2 separate regions of the Homo sapiens genome follow, and region 1 is linked to region 2. Evidence: promoter capture Hi-C in 16 types of primary human blood cells and fetal thymus (Javierre and others, 2016). All regions are on one chromosome and are shown on one strand. The core of a region is centred on a gene start or on the middle of the fragment in contact, and the rest is flanking DNA. Distances in the headings are between cores, read along the strand shown.

Region 1 (6,386 bases), core at 2,641-5,140, 500 kb after region 2:
GTTTTATAAAGAGGAGTTCCCTTGCACATGCCCTCTTGCCTGCAGCCATGTAAGATGTCCTCTTCCTTTGCCCTCCACAGTGATTGTGAGGCCTCCCCAGCCATGTGGAACTGTGAGTCCATTAAACCTTTTTCCTTTACAAATTACCCAGTCTCGAGTATATCGTTATTAGCAGCATGAAAAGGAACTACTACAGCAAGGTTCAGGTTCTTAAAATAGCATTTTAAGTGGAAATTACATACTTTCAAAATTACCCTTTACAAGACCTTAAATATCAATAAATTTAGTCAGGCCAGTTTTTCCTCCAGTATTGGAATGTATCACTCTTTCTTTGGTTGAGCACCAGATGAAGAATTGTATTTGACTTGCATATATGGGTTGTGTTGTTAAAAAAAAAAAAGCCCTGAACTGTTTTTAAAAACTACCAATACTTTCATTTTCGTGAAATGGTAACACAAATAAGAACCTTGCGGAAATGGGGACCACCAAGTGAGGAAACAGCAGATGGACCTCCCATTCTCATATTCTATATGAGCTATTGATTACATTAACTCTATATGAGCTATCTGATTACATTAATAATGAACTAATTAGGAATAGTTTCGCAATCCGTATTTCATTGGCTCCTGTCTTTGCTTGCTGATGCCGAACTTCAGCTCCTTGCAAAATCCTCTGCCCATAATTTCTAAGAGCCCCTACACAGTGTTTTACATGGGCTCAAGAATAAGGCATATCTGCGGCCACGTGGATATCTGCTGCTGAGTTTTCTTGAACACTTCTAGTACTCATCAGTGAGCCAGCCCCATTAAGCCAGGTCATTACCATGTGCTGCTGGACATCTTCATGACCTCCGTTGTGGCCCTCAAAGAATCAAAATGCTTGTTTCCTGGAATCTCCAATACTGCAAAATCGTGCCATCATTTTCTGCACAAGTGGCAACAAGCTGTAACCCCTCATCTTTTGATTATGTTGTGTGATGTAGTAATGATTTTAGTGCACTCCTATTTCTGCTCTTGGTACTTTCCTAGTGGACTCCACGAGGCTGTATTGGAATATGAATCTTCAAGATAGGTAAGGTGTCATTCCCTCAATCCAAGGATTAACAGCTGGCATGGCATGGGCACTGACCAACTGGAACACTGGCTGGTGCACTGTAGCTGTGCAAATTGACTGAAAAGCAGTCTGGCCAACCCCCACCTCTCTGTCATCCACACTTCTTGGCAGTCTTTCCACCAAAACCCTTATGTAAATCACCTCTTGGCAGCCTGAAACTACCAATTTGCCAGATATGCCATGACATGTTTGAAGCCTGGTGGTGAACGGAGACTTGCCCCAAGCTGTGATTCTATTTGAATGCATCTAATTAAGAAATTTTGATACTCAAATTATATTGTAGAACCGATAATAGGAAAAAAATTAATGTAAGAAAAAATTCAGAAAACTAAAAAATTAATAAAACAACTTTTTTGGGGGGAGTATTTTCTCAGAGTGCTTGTCCATATGCAGATATTTTATAAAGTTGTAATTTTGATGGTTATAATTGTTTCGCTTTTTCAATTACAATCACACTACTCATTTTGCCAACATTTACTGAGTTCCCACGATGTGCACAGCATTGACTGAGATCAAGAGAAATGCCTTACACCTCCATGTAATTCTATTTATACTGGAAGAAAGTTAGATAATGAAGGCAAAGCATGTGCGTGTCCTCATTTGGCAACTCCCTGTTGATGAATTCTTTTTTTCCCACTAGATGGTTTCTCTGGTGCTTAGAAGTACTTCACTTTAACTCCTCTCATGCCAGATTAAAAGCTTAACCTCCATAGGATAGTTTGCTTCCTCAGAGTTCCAGCTGATATGGCTGTGTAAGATATTTGTTTTTAATTCTAAAAGGGTCCAAGAGCCTTTGGCCTTGGAAATATTTTTAAAATGCAGTTGAATAAACCAGTTAGGTTTTAAAGCATATACAGCAGTTTTCTCAATTTGTTGCAAGCAAATGTTTCCCACCATATGTGGCACAGACCTGGGCACACAGTAGACAACAAGCACTTCCTGGTGGAATTAGGATATTCGTGTCTTTTCATGTGTTGTCCAACACAGGCCAGCAAAATTTATGAAATTCTATATAATCATATTTAAAGTCCTTAAGGATAAAAAGTACAATTGGAACACTTTTGATAAGAAGACTAAAAATGAAAACTGTATTCAAATTGTCAAGAAGTGGTTAGAGAAAGTAGAAGTGTACTCAACTGTCTCGGACATGTTGAGTCCTCAAAAAAAAAAAAAAAAAAAAAAAAAAGAAAAAAAACCAGACTGGGTATAGTGGCTCACACCTGTAATCCCAGCACTCTGGGGGCCAAGGTGGGAGGATTGCTTGAGGCCAGGAGTTCAAGACCAGTCTGGACAACGTAGGAAGACCTCTGCCTTTACAAAAATAAAAAAATTAGCTAGGTCAGTTGTGTGCCTGTAAGTCCCAGCTACTTGGGAGGCTAAGGCGGGAGGATTGCTTTATCCCTGGAGGTAGGCTGCAGTGAGCCATGATCACACATCTGCACTCCAGCCTGGGTGACAGAGCAACAAATTATCTAAACAATAACAACAACAATAAAAACAAACAAACAGAAAAGAAAAAACAATCAGAGTTGATATTTTCCTAAGACTCCTAACTGGTCCTAAGAGTAGCAAGATTTAGTTAGGGGAATAATGGTTATTTTTCCTAAATTACTACTTTTATCTTCAAGTACTGAACACTACTAGTGCATACACAATATACATTGTAAAAATAAAGAACAACAGCACCAGCCTGGACAACATGGCAAGACCCTGTCTCTACAAAGTAATTAAAATAGCTGGGTGTGGTGGCATGCACTTGTAGCCCCAGCTACTGCGGGGGAAGGGGGCAGTGGCAGGGCATGGCTGAGGCAGGAGGGTTGACCTGAGCCCAGGAGTTTGAGGTTGCAGTGAGCTATGATCACACCACTGCACTCCAGCCTGGGCAGCAGAGCGAGACCCCATCTCTAAAAATAAAAATAAAAAAATAAGACAGCAGAGATAGTAAAACATCTTAAAACTGAGCTATAAACTCTCATAAGGATCCTTTCTGGTTTCATATCTGGCACTTCATACTACTGTCTGATCTAGATGTTACAGAGAAACACATTCCTTGAGGCTTTGTACATTCCTTCCCATTTTCTTTCAAGATTCCATCCTACAGGGCACAGGAATGAAGCATCCTGATACAATTCAAATAAAGTTTTGGCCTGATTAAGGGAGACCAGTCCTCTCTGCATTCTGAAATTCCTTTTTGGATGATCCATAGGAGGTCTTACTTTTTTTTCACTTCCCTGCACCCCTGGCCAAGGATATTCAATATCCAAGAAACCAAATACCAATTTTCTTGTAGCTTTCACATTTCCCATCAACATGACATAGATTAAAGACCAAAAGACTTCTGTTCCATTCTGAGAGATGTGAGTCCCATTTCCATGTGAAGGAAATCTGACCGTTCCCGATTTACAGCTACTGAGGGCCTAAAATATTTGTTCTGAGAATTTCTCAGGCCTATATTTATTACATTTTAATGCACATAAAACAAAGCTGAATTCCTAGAATTTGCTGTAAAGAAGTATACTTCAAGTATTCAATCAACACATACTGTTTTCAATTCATTTATTCAATGTGAAAATATTTACACTCTTGTATAAAAAAGCTCTTTTCAAAAAATGTGAATGGAAATGAGGTAAAATAAATAAAATTGAAGTAGTTCAAAATAATCTAATCGGTAATAATATAGTAAACCACATGATTATACCCTTAGAAGTAAACATGTGACAAGCATGAAAAACTAAAAGGATTTGTTAGAGGCATGTGAACCAGAGCAACTCCATCTTAAACAGGAGCCGGGCAAAATGAGGGTGAAATCTATTGGGCTGCATTCCCAGATGGTCAGTTAAGGCATTCTAAGTCACAGGATGAGATAGGAGGTCAGCACAAAATACAGGTCTTAAAGACCTTGCTGATAAAACAGGTTGCAGTAAAGGAGCTGGCCAAAACCCACCAAAACCAAAATGGCGACGAGAGTGACCTCTGGTCGTCCTCACTGCTACACTCCCACCAGTGCCATGACAGTTTACAAATGTGCCATGACAGTTTAGACCCTATGTGGTCCAAAAAGGGGAGGCATGATTAATCCACTCCTTGGTTAGCATATCATCAAGAAACGACCATAAAGAATGGGCAACCAGGCCAGGTGCGGTGGCTTATGCCTGTAATCCCAGTACTTTGGGAGGCCAAGGCGGGCAGATCAACTGAGGTCGGAAGTTCAAGACCAACCTGACCAACATGGAGAAACCCTCACTCTACTAAAAACACAAAATTAGCCGGGCGTGGTGGCGCATGCCTGTAATCTCAGCTACTCGGGAGGCTGAGGCAGAATTGCTTGAACCTGGGAGGTGGAGGTTGTGGTGAGCCGAGATCACGCCATTGCACTCCAGCCTGGGCAACAAGAACGAAAACTCCATCTCAAAGGAAAAAAAAAAAAGGGCAACCAGCAGCCCTCAGGGCTGCTCTATGTAGTAGCCATTCTGTTATTCCTTCATTTTCTTAATACTTGCTTTGACTTTTGCACTGTGGGGTCACCCTGAATTCTTTCTTGTGTGAGATCCAAGAACCCTCTCCTGGGGTCTGGATCATGACCCGTTTCCTGTAACAGATTCAAGTGTTTTTCTTTTATTTTCTATAGTATACTCCTTTAAGATGTCAAAATCAGAGTATTTATATAATTTGCCAAAGGCTTGATATGCAACTTTTCATACAACCAGTCTATTTCACAGTGACAGTGTTTCAAACACTCTCCCTCTTCTTTTTGGGTAGTCATTCATTAATTTCCCATTTGGGCACACCTCACTGGTTATAAGACACATAACCAACTATGCCACATCTTGTTACTCTGGGCATATTTTCAGCAACAGGAAAAACCACAGTGTATGTTACTTCAGAGGCTTTCCTATAATGGTAATGTCTTACATCTGCTAAAGTACCTCTCCACTGTCTACAGGACAAAGCCCAGTTTTTTTTTTTTTTTTTTCCTGTAACAAAGCTCCCTCAAACCTACCTTTTCAACCTTATCTTCCATTAGTCTTCTCTATCAGCTTTTTGTTCCAGCCAAACTGGTTTTCCCAAAGTCAGAAGAACAGAGTCACACTGTCCTTAATTGCTGTTACAGCTCCACCCACATGCAGGTTTACTAAAGAGAGGTTTTATCTGATGGGTTGAAATTGAAGTGATGGAAAGTAATTTACCTCCCCTCTTCTTTCTTCATCTTCAAATCCTACTACTCCTCCTTTAAGATCACTTTAGATTGAAGTGTCCTCCACTCACCTATTATAAATAGGAATGCATGGGCAATTTATTTTAAACTTTGTAGTAACAACCATATTAACAAATTATAGGCCAGGCATGGTGACTCACGCCAGTAATCCTAGCGTTTTGAGAAGCCATGGCACGCAGATTTTGAGCCCAGGAGTTTGAGACCAGTCTGGGCAACATGGCGAAACCCCATTTATACAAAAAATACAAAAATTAGCTGGGTGTGGTGGTGCACCCTTGTAGTCCTAGCTACTTGGGGGGCTGAGGCAGCAGGATCCCTTGAACCTGGGAGGTTGAGGCCGCAGCACTCCAGCCTGGAGGACAAAGTGAGACCCTGTCTCAAAAAAATAAATAAAAACCAAATTATGTTCTGTCTCATAACTTTTATCAATTCAAAATGTGATTTTTATAATTTATTTAACTTTTCATGTAGTTGCTTCCCTAGAGGGTAAACTCCCAAAGGACACTGATCCTCTCATCCACCTTATATCAGATGCCTAGCAGGTGTCTCAAATATAATACTTACTCACTATTGTCTAGTTTTACTATTTTAACTTATATGACAAAGGATTATCATAAAAATTTTCGTTGGAAAGCTTTGCTGAGAAATGTGAATTTTTTTTAAGAATTCCATTGTAATTAGAGGCTTCTGAGGGACATGTGAATCATAGTGAAGAAATAATATAAATGTTATTTTTTGGGCCAATTCCCCTTAAAATCAAACACAGAGGTGGGGTACAGTGGCTTACACCTGTAATCCCAGCTACTTAGGAGGCTGAGGTGGGAGGACTGCTTGAGCCCAGAAGTTCAAGGCCATAGTGAGCTATGACTGTGCTACTGCACTCCATCCTGGATAACAGTGAGATTAAAAGATAAATAAAAGTAAAAAAATAGAAATTTATTATAAAAATACTAAGCAAAGACATTTAAATATTTTCATTTATATTTAAATATGTTATTGACGAGTTATTCTAATTTGTCTTCCTTTCCAATCTTGATCCAAATGTACTTATATTTTA
Region 2 (6,463 bases), core at 1,718-4,217:
TAATATCCAACCAACTGCTGAACTCTGACATACGGTCTAACAGGCATCTAAAACGTCACATATCCCAAACTGATTTCCCAACAGTCTACTCCACCTCCATACCTTCTCTTCTCCCATTCCTGTGTTTCTTAGTAAAAGGCAACTTCATTCTTAAAATCACTTAGGTCAAAAACCTTGGAGTCATCCTTGACTCCTCTTTCATACACCACATCTAGTCTATCAGCAAACCTGGTTGGCTCTACTTTTAAAATACACCTGGAATCTACCATTTCTCACCGCCTTCTGCCACCACCCTGGTAATCAACAGAGATTGGATTACTACAAAAGCCTCCTAGTCTCCCTGATCCTGTCCTTTCCCCCATAGTCAATTCTCAACTAAGCAGCCAGAGAAATTGTTAAGTCCAGATCACGAAATTCTCTATTCAGTAAAAGTCCTTACAATTACCTACAAGGCCTGGTGTGATCTTGTCCCACTCTGCCCTCACCTTTCTCCACTTTAGTCACAATGGTCTCTCCAGTGTTTTTTCAATTAACCTGACACTCTCCTGCCTAATGGCCCTTGCACTTGCCGTTCTCTGATGAGTAGGCTGCCTTCCTAGAGAGCTAGGTCCCTCACCCCACTTCTTTCAGATCTTTATTCAGATGTCACCTTCAAACAGAGGGCTTCCCTGGGCCTAAGATTGTAGCTGCTTACCTCCCCTACTACTTACACACACTCCAAATCTCCCCTGCTTTATTTTTTTTCTCATCACTTACCACTAACATGTTAAATGATTTTAATTTTTTAACTTGTTTCTTGTCTCCCCTACTAGAAAGTTTGTTCTACAAGGACAGGAATTTTTGCCTGTTTTGATCTCCATTGTTATCTTGGCATGTAAAATAGGGCCATAACAGACCCTGAGCAATTATTTATTGATTCAATCAATCATTCTTAAAGATTAGGCAAGATGGCCAGGCACAGTGGCTCAAGTCTGTAATCCCAGCACTCTGAGAGGCGGAGACAGGAGGATCGCTTGAGCTCAGGAGTTCAAGACCAGCCTGGGCAAAATGATGAAACTCCATCTCTATAAAAAATACAAAAACTTAACCGGACATGGTAGCGCACATCTGTGGTCCCAGCTACTTGGAAGGCGGAGGTGGGAGGACAGCTTGAGCCCGGGAGGCAGAGGTTGCAGTGAGCCGAGATCATACCACTGCACTCCAGCCTGGGTGACAGAGTAAGATCCTGTCTCAAGGGAAAAAAAAAAAAAAATTAGGCAAGAGAATTTACATGTATTGATTAATAAATGATAGTGTCACACACTCATTTAATCAACAGAACCAAAGAGACTGGTAGTATTACCTCTATTTACACATGAGAAAATTGAAACTACCCTGAGGCATACAGCTAGAAGACAGAAGATCTTGGTTTCAATTTCAGGTCTGACTGAGGCCTTATTCTTTTTTAATGCATCACACTAACACATCAAACCCAATCATGTGAGTTTGTAATAAATGTGTCTCTCTGCACCCTCTTCCCAAGTTAACAAGGTTCTGGCTGGAGACAGTATAACCAACTAGTTAAAAGCAGATGCTGTGGGTTACACAAACCAGGGTTAGAATTTTGCTCTATCACCTACTAAAGAGGTATCTCTGTATGACCTACTTGTCCTTCCCATGTTGTCTTCTCATCTGTAAAATGGGGACAGTAGTAGAGCTTAATCATCCAAATAGTTGTGATATGTAAATAGTACTCAAAAAGAGTTTTAGCACAGTGCCTGGCACATTGTAACTTTCATTCAATCCTCATAACTTCCAAAAATTCCAAAACACCAATGCAACGTGTGGGAAAAGTCCAGTCCTGTTCTGTTAACATCATATTTAACCTACTTAGTTCCTGTATAGAAAACTACCTAATGAAAGCACACCTGTTAATTACCAGTTTACTGGGCATATATTATGTGCTGCGAATGTTACACAGACTGTCTTATTTAACCTCATAATGCACATCATTTATATACGAAACCAGGAAACTATAATTCAGAGGAGTTGAAGTTGCCCAAGGTAACAGAGTTAGCCAATGAGTAGTGCTTTGGGTTCTGACTCCAAAGCCTAGAACTTCAGCAAGCTTCAGGGTCTTTAAAAGATGCAGGTTGAAGGAATCACTGTATTCCCATCAGGAGAGAGCAGTATCCCTATGAGCTGTGAACTGAAAGGTAAACACCAGCTCTTTAAAATTATATATATATATAAAATATATATGCATATATATAGAATATAATATATATGCATATATATAAAATATATATGCATATATATAGAATATAATATATATGCATATATATAGAATATATATATAATATAATATATATATGCATATATATAGAAACATTTTCTGAACACGCCTTACGAACGAGGCACTGTGCTAGGACAGTCACATACTCTATCTCATTTAATCCTAACAGCCTGATAAAAGAGTAAGCACTATATTACGCCCATTTTGCAGACAGAAAATCGAGGATAAGCAGAGTGAATAACGTTCTTAAGGTCACGCAGGCAGGAAGTGATCAAGCCAGGATTCAAACCCAGCCAGGTCTGAGTCCAGAGCCGGTCCTCTCGAGGGCCAAGCTCTGGCAAAGGTAAAAGGGTAGTGAGTTGGCTAGGCCTGGAAGAGGACCTGCGTCTGAGATACTGATCGGGAGCGGTGGCCGACCCTTTGCGTGGTCTCTCTCGGTCTCTCCCAGGACTCGGGCCCTATTCCCGCCTGGGAGGCCCCACACTCACGATGAGCCCTCGGCGGTTGGGATCGTTGTACTGAAGCAGGTACTCTCGTTTCAGCTGGGCTCTTATGGCCAACCGCTCGGCTTGCGCCCGCCGGGTTTCCGGAGATATGTTGTATTCGGCTGGGTCGAGGGTCTCAGGCAGAGTGCGCAGGCTCGACGGCTTATACTTTGGGAACGACATCTTGGCGAACCAGGGCACAATTGCGCCTGCGCGATTCTGAGGCCCTTTGTCTATGCTGACCTTCAGCTTCAGGAAGTGCGCCTGCGCGTTAGCAGAGGTTGGGGATGTCGTTAACAAGGAGCTCCGCCTCTTTCTCCTACCTTCCCGAACACGGCGCGTTCGCTCGGTGATATGCGCATGCGCGAAGTGCTCTTCTCGCAGTGCGCCCTGCCCCACCGCCGCTCCCCACCTACTCATCTGTCACCGCGCTGCTTCTTCCTAGCAGCCTTGTCTCTACTGACATAACCAGGGCTTATTATGTAAAGTTGAGCTGTGTGGGACTGGCTGTGGAGTCAGAAGTCCGGGTTTTCATTGTGGGTCTAACCGTGCTGTGTCACCTTGGATAAGTCACTTAAAGTCTCTGAGTTTCCTTTTCCTTATCCTGGAGATAATGACTCCTGTCCACCTAGCAAAGTTGTTGTGAGGATTAAATAAGCTAACAAATAGATCACAAAGTGCTTTGCAAAACAGAATTCCCTACCCAAGAAGAAGAGAATAAGCTTTTCTGTACTTTACCATGCTAGATTCATACAACATTAAGTGTAAGCTTATTTTTCACAGGTACGAAATAATGATTAATAGGAAAAATGATGTTATAAGAGAAATGTTGCCTGACTGACTATAGAAGGTCAGGAAGAAAATGAGATACTGAATAAAGCTCATGAGAAAACATCTTAGTTAAAATACTAAAACCTCTTGCCTAAAATCCTTAGCACTCTTCAGATGCAAAGAATTAAAAACATCCTTACAGGTATGAAAATACTCATAGGGGCATGTATCTTATTGTAAAAGACGATCTGGGGCGAAAACTGAAGTAATCAGAAACAAAACCTTCTCTGTCCCTACTGTCCTTCCTTCTCCCCAGTTACCAAGGAGAAAAACAACTTCAAGTTTCACAGCAGGGTCTTTGGGTTCCCCTTCTCCTCAGGGGAAAAAATGTAAACAATATTTCCATAACTCGGGCAAAGAAGGATGGATCAAAAGAGAGCCCCAGCTTGGCTGAAACGTCTGGGGGCGCGTAGGTATGTTGGGAAATGGTTGCTAGAAAAGGGACCTAGAAAGTGTTGGCATTTGAAATGATGAGAAGCAGCACTGCTGTCAAATTTATTCAACATTTTAATACTGTTTTAAAATATTTATTAAGCACCCACCGCGTGAAGCACACAGCACACTAGTCAGTGTTAAGTCAATCTTCTAGGCTCAGTGGGGGAAATCCAGACAAAATGGAAGATGGGGTGTTTGCCTTTCGGGAGCTGACAATCAGGCAGTACAGAAAGAATAGGCAGAAATGGTAATATTTCAAAGTAGTCTAATGTCCAGATGAATATAGAGCAAAATGGACTCATGAGGATTCAGGCTGAGAGAATGTAGAAAAAATGAACACAAGACGAGTTACTCAGACTCGATTTTAAAGGAGAAAAAAAAAGGAAATTCTGACTTGTTCAAAGGTGTTTTGAAATACTAAGAAAATAATACAATATGAAAAGCAAGAGCAGTTTATAAAATTCTAAAGACTACATAAAGTTTCCAAAACCTGTATAGATTAGACACTGATCTAGGAAGGAGAGCATGTAAAAAGAATAAAAGGATAAAGGAATGAGTCCAGCGAGTACGAACTGATGCAGGGCAGGCGAGCCCCAAAGTGGGGCTTAGGCAACCAGGGAACTTGGCTTTGCCCAGGAAAGAATTCAAGGGCAACCCGGAGGTAGAAGAAAACAATTTTATTGAAGAGGCAGTGTTACAGCTTTGGTGGTGTCACAACCGTGACTGCTCCTGTAGAGCAGGGCCACCTCATAGGCAGAAAGCACCAGCTCAGGCCAGCTTTGAGTCACATTTATACCCACATTTGGCAGTTTGGCCGGGCGCGGTGGCTCACGCCTGTAATCCCAGCACTTTGGGAGGCCGAGGCGGGCGGATCACGAGGTCAGGCGATCAAGACCATCCTGGCTTACACGGTGAAACCCCGTCGCTACTAAAAATACAAAAAAAAATTAGCTGGGCGTGGTGGCGGGCGCCTGTAGTCCTAGCTACTCGGGAGGCTGAGGCAGGAGAATGGTGTGAACCAGGGAGGCGGAGCTTGCAGTGAACCGAGATCGCGCCACTGCACTCCAGCCTGGGCGACAGAGCGAGACTCCGTCTCAAACAAACAAACAAACAGACAAAAAAGTAAAGAGGCAGTTTATGCAGACATTTCTAGGGAAGGGGTAGCAACTTTTGGGTCATCAGGTCATTGCCCTGGAAAGGGGTGGTAACTCCTGGGTGTTGCCATGGCAATGATGAACTGACACACTGGTGTGTGTATCTGATGGAAAGCGGCTTCCACCTCCGACCTGTTTAGGCTAGTGCTCAATTTGGTTCGGTGTCCGAGTCCTACCTCCTACCTCAAACCAGCTGACTAGGTTAAAGAAGATTTCTTAAGGTTACTATAAAGAAAGCTTTGGATGAGTTAAAGTAGTTATTACCACACTTGCCTGATTATCACGAGGATTGCTTATGATGAGTGTTAAAAAAAAAGGGAGTTTAGCCAGGTGTGGTAGCATGTACCTGTAGTCCCAGCTACTGGAGAGGCTGAGGCCGGAAGATCCCTTGATCCCAGGAGTTTAAGTCTAGCCTAGACAACATAGTGAGACTGCACCTCTAAAAAAAAAAATGAAGTAAAAATAATTAGTAAATTAAAATATGGAATTTTTTTTTAACTCCTAGTTCCCGTTCTCCACCTGGAGATTCAAAATTGGTATGGCAGAGGAACCCAAGAGTCTGTATTTTTTACAATTTCCAGTGGGGGAGTGGTGGTATTAAAATATATTACATGCTTGTAAAACAGAGATGAGTACAAAAGGTCTTTCTTTTCCAAAGATAATTGGTACCAGAAAAGGCCCTCTTAGAATGAATCCATTAAAGATAGAGATGTAGATTCCATAGTGAAAGAGTGAAAGAAAAAGACTTGATTTGAACTTTATATTGAAAAAAATTCAACCCAAACTTATAAAAATGAATTTATCTTATATTTAACACGTTAGGTTACAACTGCAAGTATGTGCTAATTCTGGTAACTCAAATGTTGTTTTGGAGGAGGGACATAATTTTTTATATGGCTCATTATCCTTCACTGTGCATTTGATTTTTGCTGCAGGGTCTTACTTGCAAAAGTTTTGGAGGCGTTTATCTAGTTTTCCCAAAGACCTCTCTTAATCCTTTGAAATCAGATTATTTCTCTTTGATGTATTGATGTCAACATCGTTCTCATTGTTTTTCTCTTTTTCATTTGTTATCTGGTCCAACTCTGTGAAGTCCTCCTTTATTAATGACTTTGCATGTGGATCCAGCAGTTTACTAACATCAATTTCAAGATCATGAAATTCCACATCTTTTGTAAATTTGCACTTTTAATTTGCAATAGATTTCAGTTGTATTTGAGGGCTAGATATTTCCAAATGAATGACAAGGATTTTGATAGAAGTGGGTATAGGCACTAAGGTTA

What was found. The method cuts DNA at HindIII sites, captures the fragments that hold promoters and counts their contacts. A CHiCAGO score of 5 or more calls a contact.
Region 1: a contact is called between a fragment that was not itself captured here and the fragment with the promoter of NDUFB4 in region 2, in 1 of 17 cell types (activated CD4 T cells). The highest score is 5.7, in activated CD4 T cells.

The regions. Positions count from the first base shown.
Region 1 is chr3:120,097,707-120,104,092 of GRCh38, reverse strand. The region is part of intron 1 of GSK3B-DT (GSK3B divergent transcript); the gene reads right to left. Among named protein-coding and RNA genes, the nearest start is that of GSK3B-DT, 5.8 kb to the right of the region's middle. The HindIII fragment of the contact is 4,151 bases long and covers 1,815-5,965 here.
Region 2 is chr3:120,592,840-120,599,302 of GRCh38, reverse strand. It overlaps NDUFB4 (NADH:ubiquinone oxidoreductase subunit B4), which reads right to left and starts at 2,967. Exons shown (of 3, transcript NM_004547.6): 1 at 2,764-2,967. The coding sequence starts at 2,943. RefSeq lists enhancers at 1,447-1,516, 2,557-2,896. The HindIII fragment of the contact is 1,375 bases long and covers 2,110-3,484 here.